Regions from separate parts of the Homo sapiens genome. Here regions 1, 2, 3, 4 and 5 are each linked to region 6. Evidence: promoter capture Hi-C in 16 types of primary human blood cells and fetal thymus (Javierre and others, 2016). All regions are on one chromosome and are shown on one strand. Each heading gives the region's core, a stretch centred on a gene start or on the middle of the fragment in contact. The rest is flanking DNA. Distances are from core to core; before and after follow the strand shown. Region 1 overlaps CKAP5 (cytoskeleton associated protein 5). Region 2 overlaps CKAP5 (cytoskeleton associated protein 5). Region 3 overlaps CKAP5 (cytoskeleton associated protein 5). Region 4 holds the start of LRP4 (LDL receptor related protein 4). Region 5 overlaps LRP4 (LDL receptor related protein 4). Region 6 holds the start of MADD (MAP kinase activating death domain).

Region 1 (3,061 bases), core at 357-2,856, 490 kb before region 6:
TAATTCGCCAAGGCATACTATAGGTCTTTAAACAAATGTAATTATATACAGAAATTTCCTAATGTATTTGACTAGAAATTCTTGGAACTGGATTTTCTGTGGGACAGCTATTAATGCTTAAGGAAAAATAACGTAGAGAACTCTTTCAGTGAACATCAAAAAGCAGGAACACAAGCCAATATAGACCTTTGAGAACAAAGGTAATTTTCTTTTATATAAATGAGACAATCCAGCTCTCACTCTTCAGAAATAAACAGCAATAGCTATTATTATAAACAGCACGACTTAGAGACTGACAGAACATTTAACTATTTTCCACTTGATTTCGTTCTGACTTACCCAGAAAAACCAAATTCTTTTATGGCATTTGATAGCCAATTCAGAGTTTCTGACTGATTTTTGGGATTCTTTTGTGAGAAAGCCATTGACACAACCTGAAAAGGGAAAAACAGCAGATCTGTGTTTTATCTCGTATTTCTTATAGAAATACAGCATGACATTAAGGCAGATGTGCATTAAACTAGTTTTCTGACGCTAAAACAACTGCAAGAATGCCTTAGGAACAAGAGTGAACCTACACAAGAAAATGAGGTGAAATGATAGTAGGACTAAAGGCATTCTGGACTATTTATAGCTTTGCAGCAATTACTCTGCATTATAATGTTTTTTTTTTTTTTTTAGAGACAGGGTCTTGCTCTGTCACCCAGGAGTACAGTGGCACAATCATCAATCATTGCAGCCTCAAGCTCGTGGGCTTTCACCTTCTATAGAATTTTTTGTTTATTTGTTTTGAGACAGTCTCACTCTGTTGCCCAGGCTGGAGTACAGTGGCGTGATCTCGGCTCACTGCCACGTCTGTCTCCCAGGTTCAAGTGATTCTCCTGCCTCAGCCTCCCTAGTAGCTGGCATTACAGGTGTGCACCACCACGCCTGGCTAATTTTTGTATTTTTGGTAGAGACGGGATTTCACCATGTTGGCCAGGCTGCTCTCAAACTCCTGGCCTCAAGTCATCCTCCTGCCTCGGCCTCCCAAAGTGCTGGGATTGCAGGTGTGAGCCTCTGTGTCTGACCGAATATTTTTGACTAAGATGAATTTTCATCACTAGGCAATAGAGTATTTTTTAAGGTAAAAATAAAAATGCAGTATCAAAGGGCCGGGCATGGTGGCTCACACCTGTAATCCCAGCACTTTGGGAGGCCGAGGCAGGCAGATCACCTGAGGTCAGGAGTTCGAGACAAGCCTGGCCAACGTGGCGAAATCCTGTCTCTATTAAAATTCAAAAATTAGGCAGGCGTGGTGGCAGGTGCCTGTAATCCCAGCTATGCGGGAGGCTGAAGCAGGAGAATCACTTGAACCCGGGAGGGTTGCAGTGAGCCGAGATTGCACCATTGCATTCCAGCCTGGGCGACAGAGTGAAACTCCATCTCAAAAAAAATGCAGTATCAAAAAAGATTTTACTTGAGAAGATAAAAACTAATGTTTAATTAGTAAGCTTAAAGTTTGGGGGAAAAAATTGGGAAAACTAGAGGAATAAGACTTCTGTGTCACTAACCTGTTCAGCAGTCCATGGTAACATACAGGCTTCGGCTATTGCTGTCATAGCTTCTTTTGCATTGTTCCCACATTTCACATCTCCAATCTTGTCCACAAGGCCATCTAATACAACCTGAGCTGACGTTTTGGAAAAATTTCCCTTCTGGGCAATCAAAGCAACTATATGAAGCTTCATTTGCATCACCTGAACAAGGATCAGTATCATAAAGCTAAGAGCAAGCCAAGGACATTTATTTATTTACTTGTATTAACAGCATGTAACAGATATGACATGGTTAGGGACAGCTGGAAACACAACTAAAGTAAAATCAGGATTTTAAACAAATATGCAAAATAATTTGTATCCTTTAATTGTTACCAATTACTTAACTGACAGTGAAGAGAGGGAAAAAAAGCTACTCAGTGTTCCAAAATACTAACAAGTAATATTGCACAGAAAGTTTATTAATTGAAAAATCTGATTTTTAAATTTTCCTCCTCTTATGATTATTTGCATTTAGTACTGAATACACACCCTAAAATACACAATAAATTACTATACTGACTGCATAACTGAGAATTACTACTAGGGCTGCCTACAAAAACACTACAACCCTCTTATACACACATGCAACACAGAACTTCAGAGATTTTAGAGAACTTGTTGGCTTTTAAGTATAAGAATAAAAAGATCTGTGGAAAATAATTTAAAGATATTATTGTGATGGCAGACCTATGGGATTAAGGACCCCTTTGCTCATAAATATTTTTCTTTGTACTGTGTGAATATTTTAACTTTTTTTGTTACGCCACTAGAAATCCTATTATACAGATTAATTTAGGTGACAAATACTCCCATTTATTTATGTATTTATTTGACAGAATCTTGTTCTGTCACCCAGGCTGGAGTGCAGTGGTGAGATATCAGCTTACTGCAACCTCTGCCTCCTGGGTTCAAGCGATTCTCATGCCTCAGCCTCGCAAGTAGCTGGGATTACTTACAGGCGCCCGCCACCACGCTTGGCTCATTTTTGTATTTTTAGTAGAGATGAGGTTTCACCATGTTGGCCGGGCTGGTCTCGATCTCCTGACCTCAAGTGGATCTCAAGTGGGATCTCACCTCAGCCTCTCCAAGTGCTGGGATTACAGGCGTGAGCCACTGTGCCCAGCCACACAAACATCCTCTTTTAAAATGCAATTATCGCCTGGCTCATGCCTGTAATCCCAGCACTTTGGTAGGTTGAGTCGAGGGGAATGCTTGAGCCCAGGAGTTCAAGACCAGCCTGGTCAATATGGAGGGACCCCAGCTCTACAACAAGTACAAAAATTAGTTGGGTATGGTGGCCCTCGCCTGTAGTCCCAGCTACTTGGGAGGCTGAGGTGGGAGGATCACTTGAACCCAGGAGGCTGAAGCTGCAGAGAGACATGTTGACACCACTGCACTATCTAGCCTGGGCAAGAGAGTGAGACTTTGTCTCAAACCCCCAAAATTTGACATAGCAGGCATGTGAAAAAATAAAAATTTAA
Region 2 (3,124 bases), core at 69-2,568, 510 kb before region 6:
ATGCTTCATTCTCAGTAAGATGATATTCTTCTTCACTTAGCAAGGTGAAGAGCAATTTTAAATATTCTAGTGCTTTCATCAGGACGCTTGTATTGGTGTCAAAAAACCTCAGGGTAAGCCACTTTAAGATAAGATCCAGGCAACCAATAACTCCTTCTTTTTCACTCTCCAAGTGCTTAAAATAAAACAAAACAAAACTCCCACAAATAAGAATAATCAAAATCTTAATTCTACTAGGCAAGTGTCTTTTAAATTTTATTGGAGCCCAAAAAGAAAATGACAGATTTTTAAGCCTTCAATTAAGACCTAAAAAATATACACACACATTCATTTATTCTACCAAATAACAAGACAGCTCTAAAAATAGAGAACATAGTATATTCTACTTCCAAGTCATGCAAACTTCAGATTATTTCATAGGGCTCGGTATTTTTACATGTCTGAAATACATGTATATTTATCTATTGCAGACTTACATCAACCATAACAGCAAGGGCTTTGTTATGATGCTGAAAGTCTGAGTGAAACATCTCATCTTGTAACCATTTAGCCACACAGCTAGACATTTGAGTCTTTAGTTGCTCAATGTATTCATCCCGTGGGGTAGTAAAATTCCACTTTAGCACCTGGAAAAAACAAACGGTGAAAAGGGGCTACAGGGTGTTCAACTGAAATGAGGTAGAGAGCCTTATATAATGCAGCTGCAGGAACAATAAAATATTTAAAAATTCAACAATATTCATTTGTAATTAAATATGAATGCAAATTTCAAGGTGTCATACTTCTTGAAGCTTAACAACTCTGAAAATCTTCTAGGAATAAAAATTTTTGGAATTGTTTGTTTTTGAGACAGAGTCTCACCTGTTGCCTGGGCATGGCAGAGTGCAGTGGCATGATCATAGATCACTGTAGCATTAACCTCCCAGGCTCAAGTGATTCTTCTGCCTTAGCCCCCCAAGTAGCTGGGACTACAGACATGCACCACTATGCCCAGCTAATTAAAAAATTTTTTTCGTAGAGATGAAGTCTCAATATGTTGTCCAGGCTGGTTTTGAATTCCTGGGCTCAGGCAATTTGCCTGCCTTAGCCTCCCAAATTGTTGGGATGACAGGCATGAGCCACTGTGCCTGGCCTTGCAATTCTTACTAAAGAAAAAAAAAAAATTAATCCTACATATAACTATATAACATGGTGGACACTGCTGCCACATCTTTGATAGAGAGAAAATTTGAAATATCTATCAAAATTATGCATATCATCATTCTAGGAGTTTAATATAGATACACTCACATATGTGTACAAAGACCTACATTCAAAGATATTCACAGCAGCAGTGTTTGTAATAGTGAAAGACCAGAAACAACCTAAATGTCCAACATAGTGGGCGAAGGATAAAGAAAGGTACATACATACAATGCACCAATACAAACAGTGATACACACATATATACACAGATACGAATGATCTTTCAGATATTTCAAACATCATTAAAAGAAAATAGTGAGATACAGAACAAACAGTACGGCATGTCTGTATATGCCATCTGTATAAAAGGAGGGCTATATAAAAATATACATATGATAGTAGAGGTATAAAATATTTCTGGAGTAATACATTGAAAAAATGAGGACTAATATCCTCCCTGTGGAGGGATACTGGAACAGAGACATGCTTTTCTTACTATACTTTGCACTTTCTGTACTGCATATAATTTTTAAAAAAGATTATGTATTTTGAAAACAAATTTAAGTATCTAATGAAATCAAAGTAACATAAATGACTGAACTAGCCATTTATACAGTCACAAAGTCTGCCTTGTAAGGTCTTAAAAAGAAGGATTAATGAAGAAGCTTATACATCCAATTAATTAAAAAAAAAAATCAATGAAGATACCAAAAAAGCTACTAAATCATTTATTTCTATTTACAGGGAAAAATAGGCAATAACTCTATTCTATAGTTTCTTTTGTAGGAATTAATGCTCCCATAAACTAAATAATATAATTTATAAGCAAAAGAAACACTTAATTCCTAGATATTAAACAATAACATGAATTCAGACAGCAAAACTATTCTTGAATAACAATACAAGCAAAAATCTCCTGACGATTCTTAATCCTTCCTTACCTTCAATCCTTTTTCATCTTTCATCCTTTGCTCTTTTCCATTTGGAACAACAATAAAAATAGGCCCGGATTTGTCTTCATCCTCCTTTAAGCTGGTTTTGCTTGGCATCTTCTTCCCTTGTGCACTCTACAACCAAGGTTCAGGGAATACTGATTAGCTTGGCCACTTCTCCTTAAGAATATGATGCTGCTGCCCAGTAAAAGGGCACTGTAGAAAACAGAGATATCTTTCTACGTGATATTTCACATGAAAAAAACATGCATCACAGAATCTTGTATATGTTTTTGAACAGGTTCTCTAGAAATTTTTCTGAGAATATTCTTAAGTAACTGTTGGTTAGTTCTTGGACTGGCATGTTATGTAGTTGGAAAAACTGCTATTACTGATCATTAGTCTAGGTCACAAACTTTTTGTTTTTGTTTTCTTGAAATCTTCAACACTATTTATAGCTTTCCATATTAATGACATCTTTTTTTTTTTTTTTTTTTTTTTGAGACGGAGTCTCACTCTGTCGCCCAGGCTGGAGTGCAGTGGCGTGATCTCAGCTCACTGCAATCTCCACCTCCTAGGTTCAAGTGATTCTCCTGACTCAGCCTCCTCAGTAGGTGGGACCAAAGGCGCCCACCACCACCCCTGGCTAATTTTTGTATTTTTAGTAGAGACAGGGTTTCACCATGTTGTCCAGGCTGGTCTCGAGCTCCTGACCTCAAGTGATCCACCCACCTCAGCCATTAATGACATCTTGAATGGCATTTACACATTTCCAAACACTTAGTTTGAAAGCTTTTCTGTTTCTTTCCATTGATATTTAAATGTATCTCTTATCATAACAGTGTAACTGAAGACCTTTTGAACTTGCTTCTAGAGAAAGTTACAAGAAATGCTTTAAATATTTAAGTCACTAAAGTGGTTTTAAAAAATAATCCAAGATTTAAAATCTTCATATCAGATAGAAAGAAAATAGTAAACAATAGTACACATATTTAAGGTAAAATTCA
Region 3 (2,975 bases), core at 139-2,638, 460 kb before region 6:
TTTTAAGGCAACAAAAGAAAAGGAACTCATAACTGCTTACCTACTAAGGTGTTGTTCTTCTAAGAATATTATTTAATGTGTAGGGCCCAAAATAATATTACCATTTTTAAACAAACTTTCTAGGTAAGCAGACTAGGAATAATTAAAACCTATAAAGGATCAACATGTTTAATACCCTTTTTTTTTCTTTTTCAGATGGCATTTTGCTCTTGTTGCCCAGGCTAGAGTGGTATGGCATGATTGCAGCTCACTGCAACCTCTGCCTCCTGAGTTCAGGTGATTCTCCTGTCTCAGTCTCCCAAGTAGCTGGGGTTACAGGCATGCGCCACCACGCCCAGCAAATTTTTGTATTTTTAGTAGAGATGGGGTTTCACTATGTTGGCCAGGCTGGTCTGGAACTCCTGACTTCAGGTGATCCACCCGCCTCAGCCTCCTAAAGTGCTGGATTACAGGCGTGAGCCACCACACCCAGCCTAATACCACAAATATGTATGTATATACATATAAAAGCTTACAAATATAAACTAGTTTATAAATATTTACATGAATGAAATCTACTTTTAATAAACCTTTAATAGCTCCTATAATTAAAGTGATTCATTTACCTAGATAGATCACAAATCTTGGCAATATTTTGTTCCTGACTTTGTGGCTATCACACTATAACTCTGGGCATCTTAAATCTTTCTTTACTTCAGTTTTCTATGGGGAAAATGTTGCATTTTGACTTCTTTCAAAAAGCATATTTGGCCAGGCGCAGTGGCTCACACCTATAATCCCGGCACTTTGGGAGGCTGAGGCAGGTAGATCACCTGGGGTCAGAAGTTCAAGGCCAGCCTGGCCAACATGGTGAAACCCTGTCTCTACAAAAATACAAAAATTAGCCAGGCACGATAGTGGGCGCCTGTAATCCCAGCTACCTGGGAGACTGAGGTGGAAGAATCGCTTGAACCCGGGAGGCAGAGGTTGCAGTGAGCCGAGATCGCGCCACTGCACTCCATCCAGCCTGGGCAACAGAGCAAGGTTCCGTCTCAAAAAAAAAATAAAATTAAAAAAAAGTGTGTTTAACCTTACATATCTGTCATAGATTACATTTTCAAGTTCCCAACTGGCCAATTTTAGCTATCTAATATCACTATTAACATTTGTGAGTATCAGATTCTGGAGCAGGAGAGATTTATTTATGAAAGAACACTGAAATTCTGTATGAGTAGTAGGACCCAAATTATTATTTATCTATTATCTAATGTGCACAAATTTATCTCATGTGAGCAAATGCAACAAAATTACTCAGTAATAGCTACTAGTGTACTCCAACGATTTTTTTTTCTTGGTTTTTGTTTTTACTTTTTTGGAGACAGGGTCTCACTATGTCATCCAGGCTGGAATGCAGTGGTATGATCACAGCTCACTGCAGCCTCGACCTTCCCTGCTCAAGCTATTCTCCAGACTCAGTCCCCCAAGCAGCTGAGACTACAGAGGGGCACCACCATGCCCGGCTAATTTTTTTTTTGTATTTTTTGTAGAGACGGGGTTTCTCCTTGTTGCCCAGGCTGGTCTTGAACTCCTGGGCTCAGGCAATCTGCCTGCCTCAGCCTCCCAACCCAAAGTGCTGGGACAATACAGGCATGAGCCACTGCTCCTGGCCTTAATTATTATTATTATTTTTGAGATAGTGTCTCACTCTGTTAACCAGGCTGGAGTACAGTGACACAATCATAGCTCACAGCAGCCTCACCCCCTGGGCTCAAGTAATCTTCCTGCCTCCTGAGTTGGTGGGACTACAGGCACAATAAAAAAAGAATTTTTAATAAGATACCTGGCTATGTGATATAGTTTAAGTACAAATATCATGAGAATAACCTACATAATCTCTAAGATTTTTTAAAATGCTTTTATATTATTAAAAAAATTACATTTTAACTTGGCTCAGCTGACCTTTAAGATTAAACAAAAAATAAGAAATTATAGTGGCAATAAACCATTTTGTTTTAGGGATATTTAACATGGTGCCTGAAGAACCTAACATTTGAGATTTCTTAAATCTTCCTATATATTATTACTGTTTCATCTGAATCTTTTTTCTCTATCCTGGCCTCCTTCTGTAAGAAAAAAAAGATGGAGCAAGTCCACATGGAAAATAGACACCTTAATAAAATAAAACCTAATTTTGATACTAAACGTATTACTATAGAAAACACAAAAGGGTACTAGAAACCTGTTTTAGGTACCACAAATGTTTCTGGTCACCTGAAGCTCTCACTAACAAAGCTTTAGCAAGCTCTGGAACCCAGGATCAAGCAGTTTGGCCTCAAGGTTCTTGAGGGTCCCAGAGAGCTACCTAGTTAAACTATAGACTCTGAAATGCTTTAGGACAAATAAAGAACCACACAGGGATGGGACTACATAACAACATCTATGAAGAAAACATGAGATATACGTAACTTGTTATTTTCCTACCCTTATTCTCCCAGTTTAGCTAAAAAATGAAATAACCAGAGTACACAGCACTCCAGACTAGAAACTTGTAATTTAAAGGTAGAAGATTATAGGCCAGGTGCGGTTGCTTATGTCTGTAATCCCAGCACTTTGGGAGGCCGAGGTGGGATCACTTGATGCCAGGAGTTCCAGACCAGCCTGACCAACATGGAGAAACCCATCTCTATTAAAGAAAAAAAAAATTAGCTGGGTGTGGTGGTGCTCACCTGTAGTCCCAGCTACTCAGGAGGCTGGAGGCATGAGAATCGCTTGAACCCAGGGGCGGAGGTTGCAGTGAGCTGAGATCGTACCACTGCACTCCAGTCTGGGTGACAGAGCGAGACCTTGTCTCAAAAAAAAAAAAAAAAAAAAAAAAAGATTACAGTATTTTTTAAAATTTAGACATCACTAAGGACACAAAAGATTTATTGATATAAGCATAGTTCTGATAACTAAGATGAGTCACTAAATTTCTAAGATAATAGAATGAGCATACT
Region 4 (3,241 bases), core at 107-2,606, 350 kb before region 6:
TGTCCTACGTGAAAGAAAGAACCGGTAAAAGACCAGGCAGGGTCTCCAGACCCCTCCATTCTGAGCCCCAGCTCCCTTCATCGGGGCTGCGAGGCAAATGGGGAGACTCGGAACTCCCGCCACGATGAATAGCGATGGGTGAATAGGGCTGGGGTTCAAAGATCAAAGTTCTTTGATCTCTGGGCACAAACTAGGGAAAGCTGCTCAATCACGGGGTGCACCCAGGGTCGTTAAGAGCCCGCGGAGAAGCAGATTCCATCGGAGCCCTAGTCCCACACAACAGGGGGTACGGGCACCAAGGAGTCCTGCTGCAGCCGTCCAGCTCCCCCGAGGGCTGGGACCCTGCCGCGAGGGCCCGGCGGCTGCCTTCTGGGGTTCAGGGTTACCGGCCCCCTGCCCCCCTACCCCAGCCAGGGCAGATCTGCGGGAGCCTTCCAGCAGTTTCTTCCCTATATTCCTCCTCAGCCCCCTTTCCAACCACCTCCCTTTAGGACGATCCAGGGCTGGAAGCTGACTGGCCGCAGCCAAGAGAGGGACCCCGAAACACCGCCGAGGGGAGATGCTGCCCGCAAACAGTGCCCCAGAGCCCCTTGGTGGGAGCAAGACCTGGAGTCCGGGAATCGTTCTCCGAGTAGAGGAATCCCGGTGCCCAAGTACCAGATTCTACCGGGGCCTCTCTCCGCAACCCGCCCGAGCCCCCAGCCCCAGGAAGGAGGGCTATTTACAATTTATGGGTTTAGCGACCCTCCTCACCCGCCTCCCTTTCTTCGCACGCATTCATTCGCACCAAGGACACAGAGCCCCCGACCTAACCTGAAAGGGAAGCAGCCCCCGCTCTTGAAAGAGCAGCGAGGGAGGGCGAGCGAACGAACGCCCCGGACCTTACCCGCGCCCCGGCCCAGACCCGCGCCCCGGCCCAGACCCGAACCCGCGGAAGCGCCTCCGCTGATGCCCCCGCTCGGACTGCTGGAGCCGGGGCCGCTCCGGGTCCTCTCCCCTGCACGCAGCCCCAGGGCCACGGCTAGGAGCGAGGGCGAGGGGTCTCAGGCCCCGGCCCGCGCCGTCCAGGTCCCGGGAGGCGAGTCCTGCAGCGGCCGGACCCAGGGACAAACTTTCCCGGCGGGCGCCGCTTACCGTGTGCGCAGAGCAGGGCGCCAAGCAGCAGCGCGCCCCACTGCCGCCTCATGGTGCCGCCCGCGCCGCTCGCCCGGGGTCCCGCCGGCTCCCGCCGGACGGCGCGGCGGAGAAGCCCGCGGAGGGTCCCCGAGGGGGAAGCGTCCCGGGTGCACGGCGGCCTGCGCGCCCCGCAAGTCGCCCTCGGGCCGCCGCCGCCTCCAGTGCTGCCAGAGCCGACGCTGCCCCGCCAGGGGACCGGGAGGGGGTGTCCCGGGCCCGACCGCCCCGCCCCCCGCGCCGCAGCCCCGGCCACCGCCACCGCGCCTGGGCCCGCCCCCAGCGCCGGCCCGGCCCCTTCCCGCCCTCGGCCCCGGCTCCCTGGTCCCCCGACCCCACCCGCCGGCGCCTCCTGCGCGGGGCCCCGCTCCTCCTCAGGCCGCCCCCACATTCCTGGCCCGAGAGAGAGCCCCCTCCCTGTCGCTATTACTACTGCTTAAATTTCCCTAACTTAAAAAAAAAAAATTATCCTAGCAGCAAGTCTCGCCCCCGCTCACTCCAGCTCTATGCTTCAGACGAGCACCTGAGCTGACCCAAGTCGCCTGGACGTGACCCTGCCCCCGCCTACCGGCCCCAAGTCCAGACTTTTTTGATGTCTGCGAATACGCAAGGCTTGTGGATGCATAATCCTCTTGGGTCTTTATTGACATCAAACAAGGGACATCAGGGGGCCTGGAGTGCTGTATCTTAACTGGCGTTCTCACTGTCAAAATTCCTTTTCGGAGATTTTCTTCTCCCTGGCCTCCCCCGGTCTAGGCAGCGTTGTTCTAGGGCTAAATAATTCACCGACCCCCCCGCCCCTTTTCATTCACTCATTTCCTGAGATGGTTGTCTGGGTCCTGTTGCTCCAGCTCAGAGGCCCAGATTCGGCCCATACAGACTTAGTTCCTCCTTGCTGTCTTTGTAAATCACTGTTGTTAGCCTCTTCACCTTCTTTGACTTTCTGATCCTGACAAGGAAGGGAGGGGGTCAGGAAAGGAGTCCTCATGGGCAGCTGCACTCCCACAAAGCCCTCAGCCTCCTTCCAGCCCCAGTCTGTAGGTCCTTCCCTCAGATTTAACTTTTGATTTACTGCATAAAATCATAAACTTGTCTCTAGTCTTCCTTCCTTTTGTGGTCTACTCTCCCTAATGCATATTAATAATACGGATTAATTTCACCACCTTCCATTTTTCCAGGTTGAATCTTGTTTTGTTCCTTTTGCCCAAATGCCCAACTTTCTGATGGCCCAGTATATCGCTTTTTTCCCTCCCAGCTGATATGCCAGCATTTCTTGGGCTTGGATCATCTATGGATTTCATTAACTCACTTTCCTCACCAGTAAATAGAGTCAGGAAGACCCAAATGCCCCCTGTTAGCTGAGGGGAAAGTAATTTGGCATAGTGCAAAGTGGTTATTAGATTTCTCTAAATGGATACATTGACATTTCATCCTTGCTTGTTTTTTTCAGTACTTTCACTTCAAATTACCATCTTTTACCAAAGCTAACATGAACCATACTTTGCGACAGCAACAACAACAACATAAAAGATGTAAGGTGTTAACTCCTTGTTAGGCAGTAGTTTTCTATATCGTTTTGCCTGAAATTTTTATCCAGATGCAATGTGGTTGAACTAGCATCACCATGGTAACTATTACTGAAGCATTTTCTGGGTGTGTAGTTCTTCTTGCTGACTGAAGGCGGCAGTAGCGTCAGGTCAGGCTTACATGATCTTGGGGCTAGGCAAGACTGTCAACATTTCTGGCCTCGATCAGTTACCACAGCCTAAAATCCAAGGAGGAAAAAACGTCAAAAGTAGAGGCTGATTCCCCAGCATCCTCCTTCCCACCTCTCATTTCCTAATGCAGGTTTGGTTGGTCTCAGGGTTTCATATATGTTGCTTATGAAGACTTGCTCTTTTTTTTTCTTTTTTGAGACGGAGTTTCACTCTTGTTGCCCAGGCTGGAGTGCAATGGCGCCATCTCAGCTCACTGCAACCTCGGCCTCCCGGGTTCAAGCGATTCTCCTGCCTCAGCCTCCCGAGTAGGGTAGCTGGGATTACAGGCATGCGCCATCACGTCCGGCTAA
Region 5 (2,982 bases), core at 476-2,975, 410 kb before region 6:
TTAGATTCCACAGTTTGTTCATACACCATAGACAGACCGTGACTGTATTTTGAGTGAGTTTGCAAAAATATGGCCAGTTTGTTAGAACTTGACCCACCATCTGCTCACTTATCAGTTTCAGGGTTTTTTTGTTTTGTTTTTTTAGTGACAAGGTTTTGCTCTGTTACCCAGGATGGAATGCAGTGGCGTGATCATAGCTCACTGTAACCTTGAACTCCTGGGCTCAAGCAATCCTCCTGCCTCAGCCTCCCAAGCAGCTGGGACTACAGGCATGAGCTACCACACCTGACTAATATTTTTAAATTTTTTTGTAGAGATATGGTCCTGTCATGTTGCCCAGGCTGATCGTGAACTCCAGGCCTCAAGCAATACTCCTTACTTCTGTCTTGGCCTCCCAAAGTGGTGAGATTACTTTGGTGTAGCCACTGTGCCTGACCCTAGTTTCAGATTTTATACCAGAGAACTAGACAAGGAATTCCCAACCTTTGTTTTATCCCAAGATGTCCTCCTTTTCTGCTTTTTTTTTCCCTCCCAAAGAGAACAGTGGGGGTTGGAGGGATGGTTATCCTTGGGCTATTCTACTTGTTTTTGTTCTGGCACACCTACTCCTTACTACAGTTAGAAAAATTATACACTGTAGCTTATACTCAGATCTCTGGTCACTTAAATACAAGAAGCTTCAGTCTTTCTTACTTTCATTTTTTGTCTTTTTTTGGGATGGTGGTGGTAATGGTGTTGCTAGACTCTAAGCTCTGTAAGATTATGTCTTTGTTTAGGCATGGGCAGTGCCTAGCCCATAGCAGATGAATGAATGAATGAATGAATGAATGAATGGGGATATTATCCTATAGATGGTGTGTGGTTTAGAAAATCAACTATTGAGACTTGACATGAAATTCTACATCGGGCGTTGAGATTAACATGATTCCCAGTTTTCACTGAGGGATATCACATCCAGAGAACCTGAGAAGGGATCCCTAGCTCCTTGTTCTAGCCTTGAGAAGTAGTGGATGAGCTATGAAAAGACAGCTTTTAAAAATAAATGAAATCCTAGTGATAATTTGATCCACTCTCAGACTAACTATGAAAGTTGACTAAGATCAAACAGAGCTAGTGGCAGATCTGGGACTGGAATTAGCCCTCCATGTCCCCAGCTCCAGTACTTTTCTTACTACATGAGATAGTCTTGCCAGTGACCATCACTGCAAGGCAAAGTAAAGTTCTGTAACAAAGACCTAGAACAGAAATAGAAGATACATGGTATACATGCCATGACATTTCCTTCCAGTGCACAGAAGAGATGTCACTAGCCATATGACATTCTTCCCATTGGGTGCGAATAGGCCCTCAGGCAGCCACTACCAACCAGTCAGAGTCAGCACTCAAGAGGAAACCCATCTACCATTCCTCTTCCAGAGGAAATAAAGGTTTCATCAGTCAAGGAACTCTGGCCTCGACCTGTCTTCTCCAGATGAGCTGAAAACTCCAGCAGGAACCTCACACTCTTTATTGCTCTTCACTGTGCCCACATCCACAAAGGACTTAAAAGTGATGTCTGTAAGCAGGTTTTCCACAGCATGGGTCTGCCAGACAGAGCAGGTGCAGGATTAGTCATGACTCCAAGCCAGGCAAGGTGATTAAGAAAAGCTAAATTTATATTAAATTATCATAAAGTCCTAAAATACTGAACATAGTGGTTAAATAACTCCAGAAAGTCCAATCTCTCCAGTGAGTAACGTTAAAACCATTACACATGAGCATGGGAGAATCGCTTCCATTAGTTTAGGACAGAGAGATTTTGCTTTTTACAGAGTAAATCAGTGCTCAAATAGATACTTCCTCAAATATGTCCTTTCTACATTCTGAACAGCCCAAGTGCAATAAGATCCTTCCCCCTTTCCAATCAAGAAAATGCCACTTTTCTACTTGCTCTTCCTCCCCAGACGTGAGTCTAAGGACCCAAAGTGCTCACTCCTTTACTGCTTGTTAAGTGTAATGTGGGGAGGCTCAGAACTGGGGCTGACGCTACTGAGAGCAAGGCTAAGGGCCTGGTATCTCTCTCTAGCAGTCTTAGAACTGACTAGAAAAGAATTGATCTTGTCCTTTTTCACTTTGGTAGCTGATTTCTCAATACCAGTAACCACAGGAGAAGTTTCAACTCAGGAAACTTCCCCTAGAAATTCTCCCCTCCATTCCCAGCCCCTGTTGTTCTCTCCTGCCACTTCTAATTCCTGGGGGAGAAGAGGTCTGGGTCTGCCATGGGCTAGGAGGGCCTCATCAGTGGTGCTCTCTACCTTCCTACTCCTTACCCACCTCTTTGTATTTTTATTTATTCAGCCCTCCCACCACAGGACTTTGGAGATTGCTGGTGCCACAAGGCTTGGTCAGAAAAAGCAAATTAGGCAAAAAAACAAACAAAAAAACCCCACGAAGAACAGCTAGGGAGACGTTTTAGGGCAAAAATAAGTCTCAATTTCCCTGATACCAGGCTGAGACACGTGCCCTTTGTGTGAATGAGCATGAACCAAGTGATGGCATCCCACATGGAAACTAAGCCCCTTAGCTGAGGGGACAGCTGGAAGAGGAACATCACCACCCCGTAGCCACAGGCTTGCTGTCCACTAACTTAGATCCCTGAGCACTTGAGAAAGAACATAGGAAGTTCAACAGGAAGTTTGACCCTCATGGATACTTCTCTTTAGGCCCTGGGTTTCCCAAGTCTCCAACCTGATCGTTCTTTCTGACCATTTATGACAACTTCTGGTTTTTCTTTGAAAGCTTGTTTCTAGGTCTCTTCCCCAGAATCCCAGGACATGAGGGAGAGAGGGGTCAGGAGGTATACCATATTTGGTCTAGGCAGAGCTTCTTAGACTTTTCAGAGACTCAGCCCCCAAGGCCTAACATTCACTCAAGCCACTGGCTCACAACCTGGTTAATTTGAGCAAAGACTTAGGAAAGGTACTGGCCAGTGGTGGCACCAGG
Region 6 (3,310 bases), core at 287-2,786:
GACCCTGAGCAGCGTCCACTCAGAGCAAGTGTTTGCACTGCGTCTGCAGGACAAAAAGCTCCCACCGCTGCTCTCTGAGATCTGGGATGTGCACGAATGACTGTTCTGTCCCCATATTTTCTGTTTTCTTGGCCGGATGGCTGAGGCCTGGTGGCTGCCTCCTAGAAGTGGAACAGACTGAGAAGGGCAAACATTCCTGGGAGCTGGGCAAGGAGATCCTCCCGTGGCATTAAAAGAGAGTCAAAGGGTTGCGAGTTTTGTGGCTACTGAGCAGTGGAGCCCTCGCTAACACTGTGCTGTGTCTGAAGATCATGCTGACCCCACAAACGGATGGGCCTGGGGGCCACTTTGCACAGGGTTCTCCAGAGCCCTGCCCATCCTGCCTCCACCACTTCCTGTTTTTCCCACAGGGCCCCAAGAAAAATTCTCCACTGTCACTCTGTGGTATGGCCATAAATGCCTCAGCGCCGCCTCACTGATAGGTCTGGTACTGTTTGAACAGGAAGATCAAAATGAATACAAAATGAGAGAAACCAATTTCTGGATTGGGGGTGGGGACACGGTAATAGAGGAGGAAGCCTGCGATCTTTAGGATCCGCCTCCAGGCCCAGAGGAGGGAGAGTCACAAATGACAGCCTTGGCCGTGAGAGGGGGCCTCTTCTTACTAACCCCCACTGCGCCATATGGGTAAATGGAATGCTGAGGCTTAGGCGCCCCCTTCCCCTGCTGGGATCCGGGTAGGATCCGGTTGCCTTTCTGCGGTGGAGGAGGAAGTGTTGGATTTCAGCGCTAAGGCGTCGGCGGTGCACCTCACGTGCATGTGTAGCATGCCTTGGTTTTTCCTTTGGCATCTGAAAAAGGCACAACCTGAAAGACCTAGAACCCAGTGTCGGTCCCCAGGCCCTTTGGGACAGGAAGAGAAGAGCCGTGTGGCCGCGGGGAGGATGTCCTGAGGCGGGGCTGTCCTCGCGGACTGACTGGACTCCATCTCCCAGCGGGCGCCGCGGCGCGGCCACGCCCCCCCACTCCCCGCGCGCGCCCGGTGGAGGTAACCGCGGCCGCGCGCCCCCCTCTGCCCCCGCTGCCCAGGATTGGTAGGCTCCACCGCTCGGCAGCCGGCTTCCCTGCTCGGACGCCGAGCACCGCCAAAGCGCGTGAGTGGGGGGTGGGGACTGGGGGATGGGGAGCCCGTCAGGAAGTCTCAGGGGCCGATTATCTTGGGAAGTGACTTTCAGAGGAATCCCCATGTCGTCGAAACGGGCGCTATGACCCCGTCGGGTGAGAGTCTCTCTGAGCAACCCAAACAGAAGGTACTGCTGTGGGTCCCCCACTTGGCACGCGACGGCGCTGGGTCGGCCTGGCGCGCCCTCCCGCGCCCACGGGCGCTAGGCTAGGTCTGTGCGCAGCCGCTGTCTCCCGAGGTCGGCCCCGCCCCGCGGCGCTCGGCTCGGTGCAGCCCCGGCCCCCCGGGCTGAATGGTACGGCCCCGGCCCCGGCCTCCCCCTCCGCACCCCGCGCGAGTGGTGCGTGCCCCCCAGTGCAGACGCGGAACTGGCGCCCGCTCGGAGCGGCGCCGCGCTGGGGAGCGACTGACGCCCCGCTGCCGGGGGACGTCGGGCTGGGCCTGGCCAGTCCCCCAGAGCTTGGGAGGTAGGAGAGTCTGGGCCGGTGGGGTCCTGGGCGAGCGTCTGGGGACTCCGAGCGGGAGACGGGCTCTGAGAGGACACCGTGGCTCTTGGAGGAAGGGGTCTCTCAGGAGGCCCTGGGGGAGTGTGAAGGGGCGTGGGGACGGGGGTCTGCCGAGGAGGGGCGGGGACGGGGATGGGGGCGCCCCGGGCAGAGGAGGGGGCTCAGGCTACTGGGCTTGGTTCCTGCCGAGCGGGCGGCTCGGGTTCAGGTTCGGGGCGGGGGCGGGGGCGGGGGAGAACTGTCCAGCAGGTGAGGGGGCGGGCAGAGCTGGCCAGCCCTGGGGCCGAACCCGCACAGCGCTTGGCGGGTGTGCTTGTGCGTGTGCGTGCTTGCGCCTTATTTTTGGCTAGAATTTGGAGAAACACGTTTGGTTCTCAAGAAATTTTTTTTTTAACTTGATATTTCAAAATTGACTTGCTGGAGAGAGAACACCATTTCATCTTTCTGCAATCGCTCTCCTCCCCATCCTCGTGTATCTACCTTCTTCCACCTTTCCCTGCCCTCCCCTCTACCCCAACCCTGCCAGCTGCCAGCCTCCTTGCTCCAGTTCTCCCATACGCTGGACCAGTCTGTGCTGATGAGCTTGCAAGGTCACTGCCTGGGGAGGTAGAGGAGGGGAGGAGAGCCTCCTGTTGTGTTCACGTCAGCAGAGATGTCATATCGCTCTCTGGTTCCTGTGGTTTTACTGTGAGATCCTGTCCAAAATGAGGGACGAATCCAAAGGGTTGGTTAGCATGGCTATTTCTGCTGAAAAGGCATAGATAACTTAAAAGTTTGTGAATCCTAAATCTACCTCTGGGTGGAGCTGATGGTGATGTCGGACTTCAGCAGATAGATATGCATTTTGAGCTGGATGCTTTTGGAATACAGGAAGATAGGAACCAGAGGCTCTACGTTAGTAAACATGGTTGAGGCAAGAGGCAGAGTCGGAGCCTCGTTGGTTGTGAAGACAAGAGTGTGAGTTGTGGGTGATGTTAGAGGATTTAGTCTTTAGAGGAGTTAAAGGTGTTAGTCTTTTTGGGGAGGGGAGAGAGGAGAGAATGAGAAGGAAAATCTTAGTTATCTTTGCAATCTGAATAACTGAAGGCAGTGGCTGCTGATCAGATGTGAACTCTGGCTAAAAATTTATCCTACCACCCGTAGCTAGAATAATAACAAGATCTCAGGGTCCTTGTGGCTCTGGAAGGAAATGATTGTGAGTGACTTGAGTTTCGTCAGATAGTTGTCAGTGGAGAGGGACTGAGATCCCACCAAGGCTAGAGAGGCCTGATGCGTACTCAGTAGGAGGTGCTTCAGGCCTGATCTTTGAGATTTTGGTTGGAGAGGGCTCCGGGTTTTCAATGTAAACATAGATTGCAAGGTGTAGTCTAGAGCTCTGGTTCTATAAATTCTGTTTTACTTTAAGATACTTTGGCTCTCACTCTAGTCATTTCTACATAATTCTTTTTTTTTTTTCGAATCCCATGACAGGTTAACTACATAATTCTTTATTAAAACAAATTATGCTTTTTACTCATATCCCATTTCATTTCTCTATTTCTCTCCCCCTTGGATTCTGCTCAGGAGGAGCTGAGTGCGGCTCTGTTATAGTGCCCCACCTCCTGCAGTTTGCTCATGACTC

Evidence for each region. The method cuts DNA at HindIII sites, captures the fragments that hold promoters and counts their contacts. A CHiCAGO score of 5 or more calls a contact.
Region 1: a fragment that was not itself captured here is called in contact with the fragment with the promoter of MADD in region 6 in 1 of 17 cell types (megakaryocytes); the score reaches 6.2 in megakaryocytes.
Region 2: a fragment that was not itself captured here is called in contact with the fragment with the promoter of MADD in region 6 in 1 of 17 cell types (megakaryocytes); the score reaches 5.0 in megakaryocytes.
Region 3: a fragment that was not itself captured here is called in contact with the fragment with the promoter of MADD in region 6 in 2 of 17 cell types (megakaryocytes and erythroblasts); the score reaches 7.2 in megakaryocytes.
Region 4: a contact is called between the fragment with the promoter of LRP4 here and the fragment with the promoter of MADD in region 6, in 2 of 17 cell types (fetal thymus and naive B cells). The highest score is 7.1, in fetal thymus.
Region 5: a fragment that was not itself captured here is called in contact with the fragment with the promoter of MADD in region 6 in 2 of 17 cell types (M0 macrophages and M1 macrophages); the score reaches 7.1 in M0 macrophages.

The regions. Positions count from the first base shown.
Region 1 is chr11:46,782,935-46,785,995 of GRCh38, forward strand. CKAP5 (cytoskeleton associated protein 5) reads right to left here. Exons shown (of 44, transcript NM_001008938.4): 17 at 1,554-1,739; 18 at 340-434. Among named protein-coding and RNA genes, the nearest start is that of SNORD67, 22 kb to the left of the region's middle. The HindIII fragment of the contact is 231 bases long and covers 1,492-1,722 here.
Region 2 is chr11:46,763,005-46,766,128 of GRCh38, forward strand. It overlaps CKAP5 (cytoskeleton associated protein 5), which reads right to left. Exons shown (of 44, transcript NM_001008938.4): 28 at 2,127-2,252; 29 at 477-626; 30 at 1-175. Among named protein-coding and RNA genes, the nearest start is that of SNORD67, 2.1 kb to the left of the region's middle. The HindIII fragment of the contact is 1,059 bases long and covers 790-1,848 here.
Region 3 is chr11:46,811,302-46,814,276 of GRCh38, forward strand. All of the region lies in intron 4 of CKAP5 (cytoskeleton associated protein 5), which reads right to left. Among named protein-coding and RNA genes, the nearest start is that of CKAP5, 33 kb to the right of the region's middle. The HindIII fragment of the contact is 1,761 bases long and covers 509-2,269 here.
Region 4 is chr11:46,917,194-46,920,434 of GRCh38, forward strand. It overlaps LRP4 (LDL receptor related protein 4), which reads right to left and starts at 1,357. Exons shown (of 38, transcript NM_002334.4): 1 at 1,135-1,357. The coding sequence starts at 1,186. RefSeq lists enhancers at 1-418, 1,582-2,086, 2,781-3,241 and silencers at 922-1,091, 1,102-1,281, 1,292-1,521. The HindIII fragment of the contact is 10,743 bases long and covers 1-3,241 here.
Region 5 is chr11:46,855,233-46,858,214 of GRCh38, forward strand. LRP4 (LDL receptor related protein 4) reads right to left here. Exons shown (of 38, transcript NM_002334.4): 38 at 1,485-2,982. The region is part of intron 2 of LRP4-AS1 (LRP4 antisense RNA 1); the gene reads left to right. Among named protein-coding and RNA genes, the nearest start is that of LRP4-AS1, 10 kb to the left of the region's middle. The HindIII fragment of the contact is 2,101 bases long and covers 676-2,776 here.
Region 6 is chr11:47,268,597-47,271,906 of GRCh38, forward strand. MADD (MAP kinase activating death domain) reads left to right here and starts at 1,537. Exons shown (of 37, transcript NM_001376571.1): 1 at 1,537-1,650. NR1H3 (nuclear receptor subfamily 1 group H member 3) reads left to right here. Exons shown (of 10, transcript NM_005693.4): 10 at 1-437. The coding sequence ends at 100. MADD-AS1 (MADD antisense RNA 1) reads right to left here. Exons shown (of 3, transcript NR_120569.1): 2 at 2,483-2,545; 3 at 2,061-2,384. RefSeq lists enhancers at 719-828, 1,302-1,596 and silencers at 979-1,088, 1,299-1,828. The HindIII fragment of the contact is 13,444 bases long and covers 1-3,310 here.